Regions from separate parts of the Homo sapiens genome. Here all the other regions are linked to region 2. The links are contacts of gene promoters, found by promoter capture Hi-C in blood cells and fetal thymus (Javierre and others, 2016). All regions are on one chromosome and are shown on one strand. Each heading gives the region's core, a stretch centred on a gene start or on the middle of the fragment in contact. The rest is flanking DNA. Distances are from core to core; before and after follow the strand shown.

What was found. Contacts are between HindIII fragments. The CHiCAGO score rates a contact against its expected background, and 5 or more counts as called.
Region 1: a contact is called between a fragment that was not itself captured here and the fragment with the promoter of PEX26 in region 2, in 16 of 17 cell types (total CD8 T cells, naive CD8 T cells, megakaryocytes and 13 more). The highest score is 24.8, in total CD8 T cells.
Region 3: a contact is called between a fragment that was not itself captured here and the fragment with the promoter of PEX26 in region 2, in 7 of 17 cell types (total B cells, naive B cells, M1 macrophages and 4 more). The highest score is 12.3, in total B cells.

The regions. Positions count from the first base shown.
Region 1 is chr22:17,839,971-17,843,344 of GRCh38, reverse strand. MICAL3 (microtubule associated monooxygenase, calponin and LIM domain containing 3) reads left to right here. Exons shown (of 32, transcript NM_015241.3): 20 at 1,328-1,523. Among named protein-coding and RNA genes, the nearest start is that of LINC00528, 64 kb to the right of the region's middle. The HindIII fragment of the contact is 7,527 bases long and covers 1-3,374 here.
Region 2 is chr22:18,076,552-18,079,993 of GRCh38, reverse strand. PEX26 (peroxisomal biogenesis factor 26) reads right to left here and starts at 2,004. Exons shown (of 5, transcript NM_001127649.3): 1 at 1,388-2,004; 2 at 1-120. The coding sequence starts at 1,617. LOC105372853 (a long non-coding RNA gene) reads right to left here. Exons shown (of 6, transcript XR_001755424.2): 6 at 2,098-2,336. RefSeq lists enhancers at 1,181-1,230, 1,711-1,940, 2,271-2,330 and a silencer at 1,591-1,640. The HindIII fragment of the contact is 13,258 bases long and covers 1-3,125 here.
Region 3 is chr22:17,875,907-17,879,042 of GRCh38, reverse strand. The region is part of intron 16 of MICAL3 (microtubule associated monooxygenase, calponin and LIM domain containing 3); the gene reads left to right. Among named protein-coding and RNA genes, the nearest start is that of LINC00528, 100 kb to the right of the region's middle. The HindIII fragment of the contact is 2,538 bases long and covers 238-2,775 here.

The DNA.
Region 1 (3,374 bases), core at 5-2,504, 240 kb after region 2:
AGGAGGACAAGGGACGTCAACAGAGAATAGTGGTGATGATAAGGGAGGCAGCAGAACTGTTCCATGTTAAAGGAGACCAAAGCACAGTTGTAAAACACATTTTCAAAAATCCGAGTCCATAGCAGTACTTGAAAGTATAAAGTTAAAAATGGGAAAAGTGCTTCTTTACCAAAGAATGGTAGTGGAGGAGGAGTGATGGGATTTTTTTTTTTTTTTTTTTTTTTGAGATGAAGTCTCGCTTTGTCACCCAGGCTGGAGTGCAGTGGCGCAATCTCGGTTCACTGCAAGCTCCGCCTCCCAGGTTCACACCATTCTCCTGCTTCAGCCTCCCGAGTAGCTGGGACTACAGGCGCCCGCCACCGTGCCTGGTTAATTTTTTGTATTTTTAGTAGAGATGGGGTCTCACTGTGTTAGCCAGGATGGCCTTGATCTGCTGACCTCGTGATCCACCTGCATCGGCCTCCCCAAGTGCTGGGATTACAGGCGTGAGCCACCGCACCCAGCCAGAGTGATGGGATTTTAAAATCACCTGGTGTGACGCCCTGTGCACACAAAGGACTCCGGCCAAGATCGCCGACGATGCTGAAACCACAGGGTGAAAGGACGCAGGCAGGGCACCCCGTGGCTTCAGAAGCCCACGGAGGACTGATGGGGAAGTGTGCCTGTGCATCGCAGAGAGGCCTGGGTGCCACCTCTGTGAGCGGTCGGGCCTGGTGTCCTTCCTCTGAGCAGCGGTGCTGCGGTAGGGGCAGCATCGCCCACGTGGCCTTATGAAACCGAAAGTGCCTTATCTAACTGTGAGGAGACAGATCCGCAGCATGAGACGTTCTTCAGGCAGCTGGCCAGGCCCCCTCAGTGGTGGGGCACGTGCCTGGTGGGGACTTGGATCCCGGGGCAGGCATTGGGGGAGGCACCTGGTGGGGGCCTGGATCCCTGGGGCAGACTGCACCGGGGATGCCCTTCTCAGGCAAGGCTGCTTCAGGGGCACCTGGCTCCTGGCTGCCTGCGGTCTGGCCCACACCCCTCACCACCAGTCACTCTTGTGGGGAGACTGCGTCTCCCCTCTGGGGGCCGGGTTCAGGGTGATGAAGGAGAGAGAACGCTCTGACCTGGAGGGCAGACAGGGCCACCTTCCTTTCTCCTGCAGAGTGAAATTCCCTCTCACATGCCAGGGTCCTTCTCTGGCCTCTGGCAACTCTGCAAATGCTCTGACCTTTGTCCTGCCCCACATTCTGGCAGGAGGGCCTGCAGCCTGGGTGTCAGCCCCCACCCCCACGCCCCGTCTGTGGTTGGACCTCAGTGCAGTGCTTCTGTGCTTGTCCCGCAGGTTCAGGCGTGAACGGCCTGGAGGAGCCCAGCATCGCCAAGCGACTGAGGGGCACCCCAGAGCGGATCGAGCTGGAGAACTACCGCCTGTCCCTGAGGCAGGCTGAGGCACTGCAGGAGGTACCGGAGGAGACTCAGGCCGAGCACAACCTGAGCAGCGTGCTGGACACGGGCGCCGAGGAGGACGTCGCCAGCAGGTCAGCACGCAGGGCTGCAGGGCGCCCACCCGCCACACGGCCCTAAGAGCCTCCTCACCTCTGTGTGTCTCGGTTTCTTCTCAGTGAAGGGAGGCCTCCTGTCTTTCCTGCTGCCCGCAGTCCATTCTCCCCAGTCCCTTTTAGGTTCTTAGCCTCATCTTCTAGTCAGTGAGGACTCCTCCATCAGACTCAATTCAGAGATTCAGGAAGTATTTATTCCTTGAGGACCTGACATGTCCCCAGCTCCAAGTCTGTCATTGGGAAGGAAAGTGGCAGGCTCTGCCCCCGGGTTATTCACAGATTCAGCAGAGGGAAGGACGGGCACACGGGGAGGGACTCTGGGTGATTCAGCCACCAGTGCACCGGGCCGTCTTGAGGGAGGCCTAGTCCGTCCCCCAGGCATCTTTTTTTCTCCTGTAGGTAAAGAAAGGGACTGAAAATGTGTGCCCCAGGGGCCGCATGCAGCACCAGTGGATGCATGCTTAGGCAGTTCCAGAGCTGTAATCACATCCAGCTGGGTGACACCTTTGGGGATGTGCATGCTATAACCCTAGGACTCCCTATATCCACTGCCCTGCACCCCAGGGCTTCCAGTATCAGCGAAGGCTTCAAAGTGTTCAGCCGATTACAGATGATCAAGAGAGCCAAGAATCAAAAGGGGGTCCGGTGTCCTGTGGGGCTTCAGGACAGAAACACAGGCTGCAAACCCGAGGGGCAGAGGCCTCAAGTGGCCTTGGAGAGCATTTGAATCACACACCTTGATTTAGCCATGATGAAGGGAACATGTGGGGATAAGGAGAGCAGAGCAGTTTTTTTAAGGTCCAAGAACGCTTTCCAGAAGGTGTTTGCTGGGCCGAGCTGCTTTCAGCTGCACCCGCCACCTCAGCCCTCATGTCAGACACCCTCTGCCTAGATTCATTCTTGGGCTGCCTCACAGACCGCTCCTCCGTGCATGCCGGGGGCAGCCTCTGCCTTGGTGTCTGCAGTTCCAAAGCTGTCACTGATGGTGCATCCTCATCCAGAACTCTGCTTCCCTATCCAGAGCACCCATGGAGGCCCCACTCTCCCCACTGTGCCCAGATGAGGGGGAGCCCACTCTCTCTCTCCACTGACCCTGCAGTGAGGGTGAGAGATGCTGTGTGTCAAAACACATTTATAAACCCTTGAGCAGAGCTACTGGCTTGACCTTGGGCTGAGTGTGGGTCAGCACCATTTTCTCCACTGTAATTTATAAATTGTGAGAGGCAGTGGGGCAGCAAGTTCATGTAATGTAGCAAGGACATTCCAGGAAGGCTAACCCCTGGCATTTATGGCAGGTATGACAGGAGGGCAGCACAGAAAACATGAAATCAGTCAGCATCTATGCAATGCAATACATGCCTCATCTTACTCAGATTGAAGTTAAAAAAAGATTTTAAAACTAGCATTCATGCTGGGCGCAGTGGCTCATGCCTGTAATCCCAGCACTTTGGGAGGCCAAGGTGGGCACATCACTTAAGGTCAGGAGTTCAAGACCAGCCTGGCCAACATAATGAAACCCTGTCTCTACTAAAAATACAAAAATTAGCTGGGCATGGTGGTGCACACCTGTAATCCCAGCTACTTGGGAGGGTAAGGCATGAGAATTGCTTGAACCTGGGAGGCGGAGGTTGCAGCGAGCCGAGATCATGCCACTGCACCACTGCACTCCAGCCTGTGTGACAGAATGAGACTCCATCTCAAAAAAAATTAAAATTAAAATCAAAAAATAAAATAAAGGCCAGGCACGGTGGCTCACACAGGAGAATCACTTGAACCTGGGAGGCGGAGGTTGCAGTGATCTGAGATCACACCAGTACACTCCAGCCTGGG
Region 2 (3,442 bases), core at 755-3,254:
GGTAGCTTTTCAGGGACCTGGTAATACTGAAGGACCCAGGAGAGGACTTCTTGCCACCGATCCATTTCTGCCAGGGCCTGGATCCCCACAACACACAGGGAGCACTTCACCTCCAATGAGCTGTCAGCAGAAAAACCAATTTCAGTTAGAAGTGGTTCCCCTCCATTTCCATTCCCACCTCCACCTTGGGACTGTTCCTCTCCAGCTCCCAACTCAGCAGCCATCATCTCTCTCATCCCTGTTAGTATTTAGATGGGCTTCACAATTGGTCTCATGGGCTGCCCTTTCCCCCAGGAACTAAAAGTTCCTGTAACCCTCTTTCAAGAGGCAAGTCAGCTGTTGCTCAACGTTCATCTTTGTATCCAGGTGAAATCAGATTTAAATGAAGAGGAAGGGTAATCCTGAGGGGGAAATAACACACAGCACCGGTGTGTGGCTGAAAAGAGAGCTGGAACTAAGAGTTTGCTCTGTGAACAAATGGGCTTGGAGCAAGGTTTCTGGCTGAGTGGAGGTATAGACTCCATAGCTGGCTAAAAGGCACCACCTAGTAAGGTTCCTCCAGACACCCAGAAGCAAAGCCTTCTGCATTCACTGAAATGAGCTCCCACCCAGTCCCCTAAAACACAGCCAGGGCTCTCCAGATCATCCTTCTTTGTGGTCAACTTTAGCTATTCTACCTACCACCTCCCTAGCGTGGCCTAACCCAAGTTTACAATGCAAAGAAATGACTCCCTCACCTGCCAGACGAGGCTGGTGGCATTAGAAAGAGCAATGCAAGCCCAAGGTTTTTTTCTCCGGATTCTTTTCTTTTTCTTCTTTTTGGTAGAGAAGAGGGCTCATTATGTTACCCAGGCTGGTCTCGAACTCCTGGGCTCAAGCAATCCTCCTGCCTCGGCCTCCCAAAGTGCTGGGATTACAGGCGTAAGCCCCAGCTCCCGGCCCTGAATTAATTCTTTAATCCAGTCCTCTAATTGGACCAGAACGCTGCTCCTGCCATGACCCCCATTCCCCATCATCAGCCAAGGTCAGGAATAAACAACCTTGGGCGGGGCGGGGAGGGCGGAGGTACCTGGGAGAGGACTTTTACCACCTGCTTACTGACAGAACTTAGCACTTAATACACATTCAGCCTTCCCATCATGTCATTGTACCTTGGAACAAGGAGCAAATAATTGGCTGTGGGATCCCCACTAAGTTTTTGTTACACGACTTCCCTTCTCTGTAGAATGGGCACACGATGAGCGACCACCCTCTCGGAGACAAACCACTGATGAAAGCGAGGTGTAAAGCTCCTTGTGGGCAATCTGGGAAGGACAGAACTCCTGAGACCTTGAGCCCCACCACAAGAGCGCCCGGAAATCGGTTCATTTCCGAGCCCAGCACGTACGTGCCCGCGGGTTCCTCTGCCACGGCGTGGTTGGCCAGACTCTGCCAGGCCCGCTCGCAGGTCTCCAGCGCCGCCCGGAAGTCCAGGTGCACCACCAGGAGGTCGGCCGCCTCCTCCAGAAGGTCCACGGCCGGCGCCCGGGCCGGGACCGCGCGCACCGGCTCGCTGCTGCGCAGGGGTCCCCCGAGCCCCCTGAGGGGGGCTGCAGAGGTCGAAGAATCGCTCTTCATAACGAGTCCGGGTCCAAGGCCCAGGTCCTCAGACGTCGGAGTGACCGCCTCCCCAGAGGCTCCGGGATATCCCGAGTTGGCCTGGGCGAAGAGGGAGAGTCCTCATCTCTTTGCCCACACCCCTTCCCGAGGTCGATTCCCCGAGAAGGAAAAGGAAGGGGCCTATCTGAGGCAAAAGCTGGGCTCGCCTGGAGGCTGGGGAAGCAGTTTACACGTCAGATTTGCAGGATTCTTGCATCCCTGGAATACCTGGCCCTAGCTTCTCCGGCCCCGCGACACGTGCAGGAACTGCCTCAGCTCCGGGCTCCTGGTTACGATCAAAGACTCACCTCGCCTCCCGGCAGCGGGCGCGGACATCTTTGCGCTCGCCCAGCCCCGCAGCCGCGCGGCGTCCCGGCGGCGCGGAGTACTCTAGGAGTTGTAGTTCCTCAGCTCTCGGCCCATCGCCTTCTGTAATGGAAGTAGGAGGCAGAGCGCGGACTACAACCCCCAGCACGCCGCGCCCCGGAAGCCGCCCCTGTGCCGTGAGAAAACAAACTGGTGCTACAGCTTCGGGGTGCGGAAGTCAAAACGAAGCAAAACCGAAGCTGTCTTGTGAAATGGAGGGGTCCTCACTAACCAGTTCCAGCGGAGGCTAACGGAAGAAGTGCCAGCAATGGATGTGCAGCTACATGCACGCTTTTAATTCAGAGCTTCTGCGACGGTGGCGATCAGGGGATCTGTAATGTAATGTAATGTCAAGGCTGACGCAGAGCTGATCAAACATTTTGGCAACCTTAGTCTTGAATTGATTCACACTTTCTCCGCGTTGCCTCCGGAGTTTGCTGTAGGGTAATGAATATTGCCTGGTGAGGATGAGGGACTTAGGGTGGAAACCTTCACAAGGACCACTGAGAATATGTTGGTCCCAAGGGCAATGTTCCAAAATGAATAGTGACCCCACCGAGGCGGGGTTGGGGGCGCTGAGCATAAGGGCCTCATTTTTCTCACTGCTCTCTGCCCCATCCTGAATTTGCTGTTAAAAAACAACGTTAAATGCAGATACCAATTCCACTTCCCCACTGTTGTCACTTCCGATCTGTCTTTATATTTCTCCTTATCATTTATCACCATCTACATACCAATGTCTATATTTTACTTATTTTTATTGTCTATTTCCTTCCACTATGATATAAACTCACAAAGGCAGACGTTTTTGTCTCTTTTGTTCACTGTGGGAACCTCAATGCCTTGAACAGTGCCTGTCATCTATAGGTAGTCAAAAAGTATTTGTGGAATAAATGAAGTCCTGGTTTCACTTTTATCTGGTTACAGGGTCCAGACTTCTCTTTCCTCGGAGTCTGGTGGACTTGGTTCTGCCTCAGCTTCCCATGCAGACTTTTCTGCAAGAGAACGGAAATCCCAGAAGATGGATGTGTGCATGTCTGGTGACAAGGGCAGGGGATGTATGATGTGAGCAGGTGCCTGTTTAATCTAATTTCTAGGAGAGCAAAGATTCTAGGGAAGCTTTGGAGTGAATTCAAAGGGTAGAGAACTGGGGAGAAACTAAAGCCAAGAGGATCTAGTACAAATGTGGGAAGCTTGGCAAAGCCCGGGTGAAACAGAATATAATAATAAGTGTGATTTGTGGATCTGTTTAAAATTATTATTATAGTTACAATTTACCAAATACTCTGTTCCCAGTACTTTACTATAAAGTGCATTATGTACGGTATGGTTTTGTTTTTCACAATGTCCTTATTTTACATTGTGTAACTTGCTCATGGAATGACTGTGTATCCCCTGAATAGCAAACATACTTAGTTCTGTCCCTGCAGAGCAGAGT
Region 3 (3,136 bases), core at 257-2,756, 200 kb after region 2:
TATTTCTACCCCCAAACTATGTGCCAGTGGTAGAGTAGTAGCATTGGACTGTCAGATACAACTTCTTAGGGAGAGGGTCTAAATCAGTATTCAAGTGGCATTCAGCAGTCACGGATCTTGAAGTGGAAATCCTAAGAGAGCCAAAGCTCTTACCAGCGTGAGGATTTTTCCAGTGGGATGAGAATGAGGGGGAGAAAGGTAGGTGATGGCAAAATGGGGCTGTACCCGTGGAAAGCTTTAGTCTTTTCTGAAACACTGAGGGGAGAAATTACTGATTGCAGCTGGCCATCGTACAATGTGAGGGATAGCCGAGATGCCCAGTTAAAGAAGCCGGCTTACTTTATGAAACTTTTGTTCTTGTTATTCCTACCCTTAAAGATCTCCAAGTGGGTACAGCTCTGCAGCTAGCGGGAAGAATCATCTCTAGTTGTTAATCTCACAAAAGCCATTTTGGTTTCTAACTCCCTTCTGCCTTTGCTCTCTGAGAAATGCAGTTATGGCCAAGCAGTAAATTAGGTTACCCCTCGGACCCGATAGGAGCTAATCATAGTGCCATCTTCCTGCGCCCTCTCACCAGGCTAGCAGCGGGCAATGTGTGTGCTGCCTGAACCTGGTGCTGGGTCGGAGAGTGGAGACTGGGCTGGAGGTGGGGGTCTTTCCCACCCCCTTTCCATGGCCTCGCCCCACGGTGCTCACCCTTTCTGGGGCTGCTCTCCCACGGCGCTGTGTGCCCAGCCTCTTTCTCTCTTCTTCCCAGGCTGTGTCCCCTCAAAAAGGAAAGCAGCCCTTTTCACTGAGCAGGGCAGTGCCCTCCATTTTGCAGATTGTGTATTTAATGAGATGCTGATAATGTTTAATGAAACAGCGCCTAAAAGAAGAAGGGAGGGGAAGGCCGGGTGCGGTGGCTCAGGCCTGTAATCCCAGCACTTTGGGAGGCCGAGGCAGGCAGATCACGAGGTCAGGAGATCGAGACCATCCTGGCTAACACAGTGAAAACCTGTCTCTACTGAAAATACAAAAAAATTAGCCAGGCATGGTGGCGGGTGCCTGTAGTCTCCGCCACTGGGGAGGCTGAGGCAGGAGAATGGCATCAACCCAGGAGGCAGAGCTTGCAGTGAGCCAAGATCGCGCCACTGCACTCCAGCCTGGGCGACAGAGCCAGGGCGACAGAATCAGACTCGGTCTCAAAAAAAAGAAGAAGGGAGGGGAGCATGTTGAATAGGAGAGATTGGCAGTGAGAAACAATTTGAAGTTTAGGGCTGTGGTGCAGAGAGGGGATGAGTTAGGGTTTTTGAGCTCAGGAGGCAATAAGGCTTGCAGAGATGTTTCTCTCTTTTTCCCTCTGAACTGGTTTCTGCACTCCTCAGTGCAGGGCTCCAGGCTGGATACTTTTGAGGACACTACTTAAGTTCTTTTCTTGGACTCTGCTGCCATCCTCCATAACCTCCCTAACCTCCATAACTTCCCTAACCTCCCTAACCTCCATAACCTCCCTCACCTCCATAACCTCCCTCACCTCCCTAACCTCCCTAACCTCCATAACCTCCCTAACCTCCATAACCTCCCTAACCTCCATAATCTCCCTAACCTCCATAACCTCCCTCACCTCCATAATCTCCCTAACCTCCATAACTTCCCTAACCTCCCTAACCTCCATAACCTCCCTCACCTCCCTAACCTCCATAACCTCCCTAACCTCCCTAACCTCCATAACCTCCCTAACCTCCCTAACCTCCATAACCTCCCTAACCTCCATAACCTCCCTAACCTCCATAACTTCCCTAACCTCCCTAACCTCCCTAACCTCCATAACCTCCCTAACCTCCATAACCTCCATAACCTCCCTAACCTCCATAACTTCCCTAACCTCCCTAACCTCCATAACCTCCCTAACCTCCATAACCTCCCTAACCTCCATAACCTCCCTAACCTCCATAACCTCCCTAACCTCCATAACCTCCATAACTTCCCTAACCTCCATAACCTCCCTAACCTCCATAACCTCCCTAACCTCCATAACCTCCATAACCTCCATAACCTCCCTCACCTCCCTAACCTCCCTAACCTCCATAACCTCCCTAACCTCCATAACCTCCATAACCTCCCTAACCTCCCTAACCTCCATAACCTCCCTAACCTCCCTAACCTCCATAACCTCCCTAACCTCCCTAACCTCCCTAACCTCCATAACCTCCCTAACCTCCCTAACCTCCATAACCTCCCTAACCTCCCTAACCTCCATAACTTCCCTAACCTCCCTAACCTCCATAACTTCCCTAACCTCCTTAACCTCCCTAACCTCCATAAGCTCCCTAACCTCCATAACCTCCCTAACCTCCATAACCCTGCATGTGTACTTGCCCTCTCTGCCCCACCTCTACCCAGTCCTACCCAGTCCCCCACTCCTCCCCTTGGCTCTGACTGCTCTGCCCCCCAGGGGGCTACTGAGTCTCCCTCTTGCTTCCTTCTGAGGGGCGGTGCTTACAGCCATCCTCTCCAGCTCCCTCTGGGGCCTGTGTTGCTGAGCCCAGGGCCAAGGAGCTGGCTGAGTGTCTCAAGCAGAGGGTGTTGAAGTACCAGGTAACTGCCAGTCTATGTCGCCACCCCACGGAGCTATGAAGTGCACGTGGCTGAGGTAGGGAGTGTGACCAATCTGGCTTGGAGCTGGAGGAGCAGAGGGCTTTCTAGCATCATGACTTAATGCTGTCCTTCCCACCTGTAAATAGTTCATTCTGAACCTGGTGGGAAATGAAGCAGTTATTGGTTGCCAAAGCTTTCGGTCACTGCCTCAATCTCTGGGGACTGGGTTCCTAGCTGCATGGGCCCACGGCTAAGGGAGACCCTTGCCCAGTTTTGTTACGTGTGCTATGTGCAGTCTGCAGAGGATTTGGGCTCAAGTCTTTTCTCCTCATCTTTGCTTGGGATTCAGCTGGCTCTTTGGCAAGCAGAGCCTCTCTGAGCACTAAGTGGAAGGAAGAGATGCTGCATTCCTGGCCCTTCTGTAGAAGGAGCGAGCTTCACTCTAGATTTGCTGTCTCCGCTGCCTGCTACTTCTAAGGCCAATGGAGTGATAGGGTGGCGGGAGAATCTTTTTGCCCTGGAGAAATCCCAGCTCAGGCCGGGGGTTGCTTGGCAG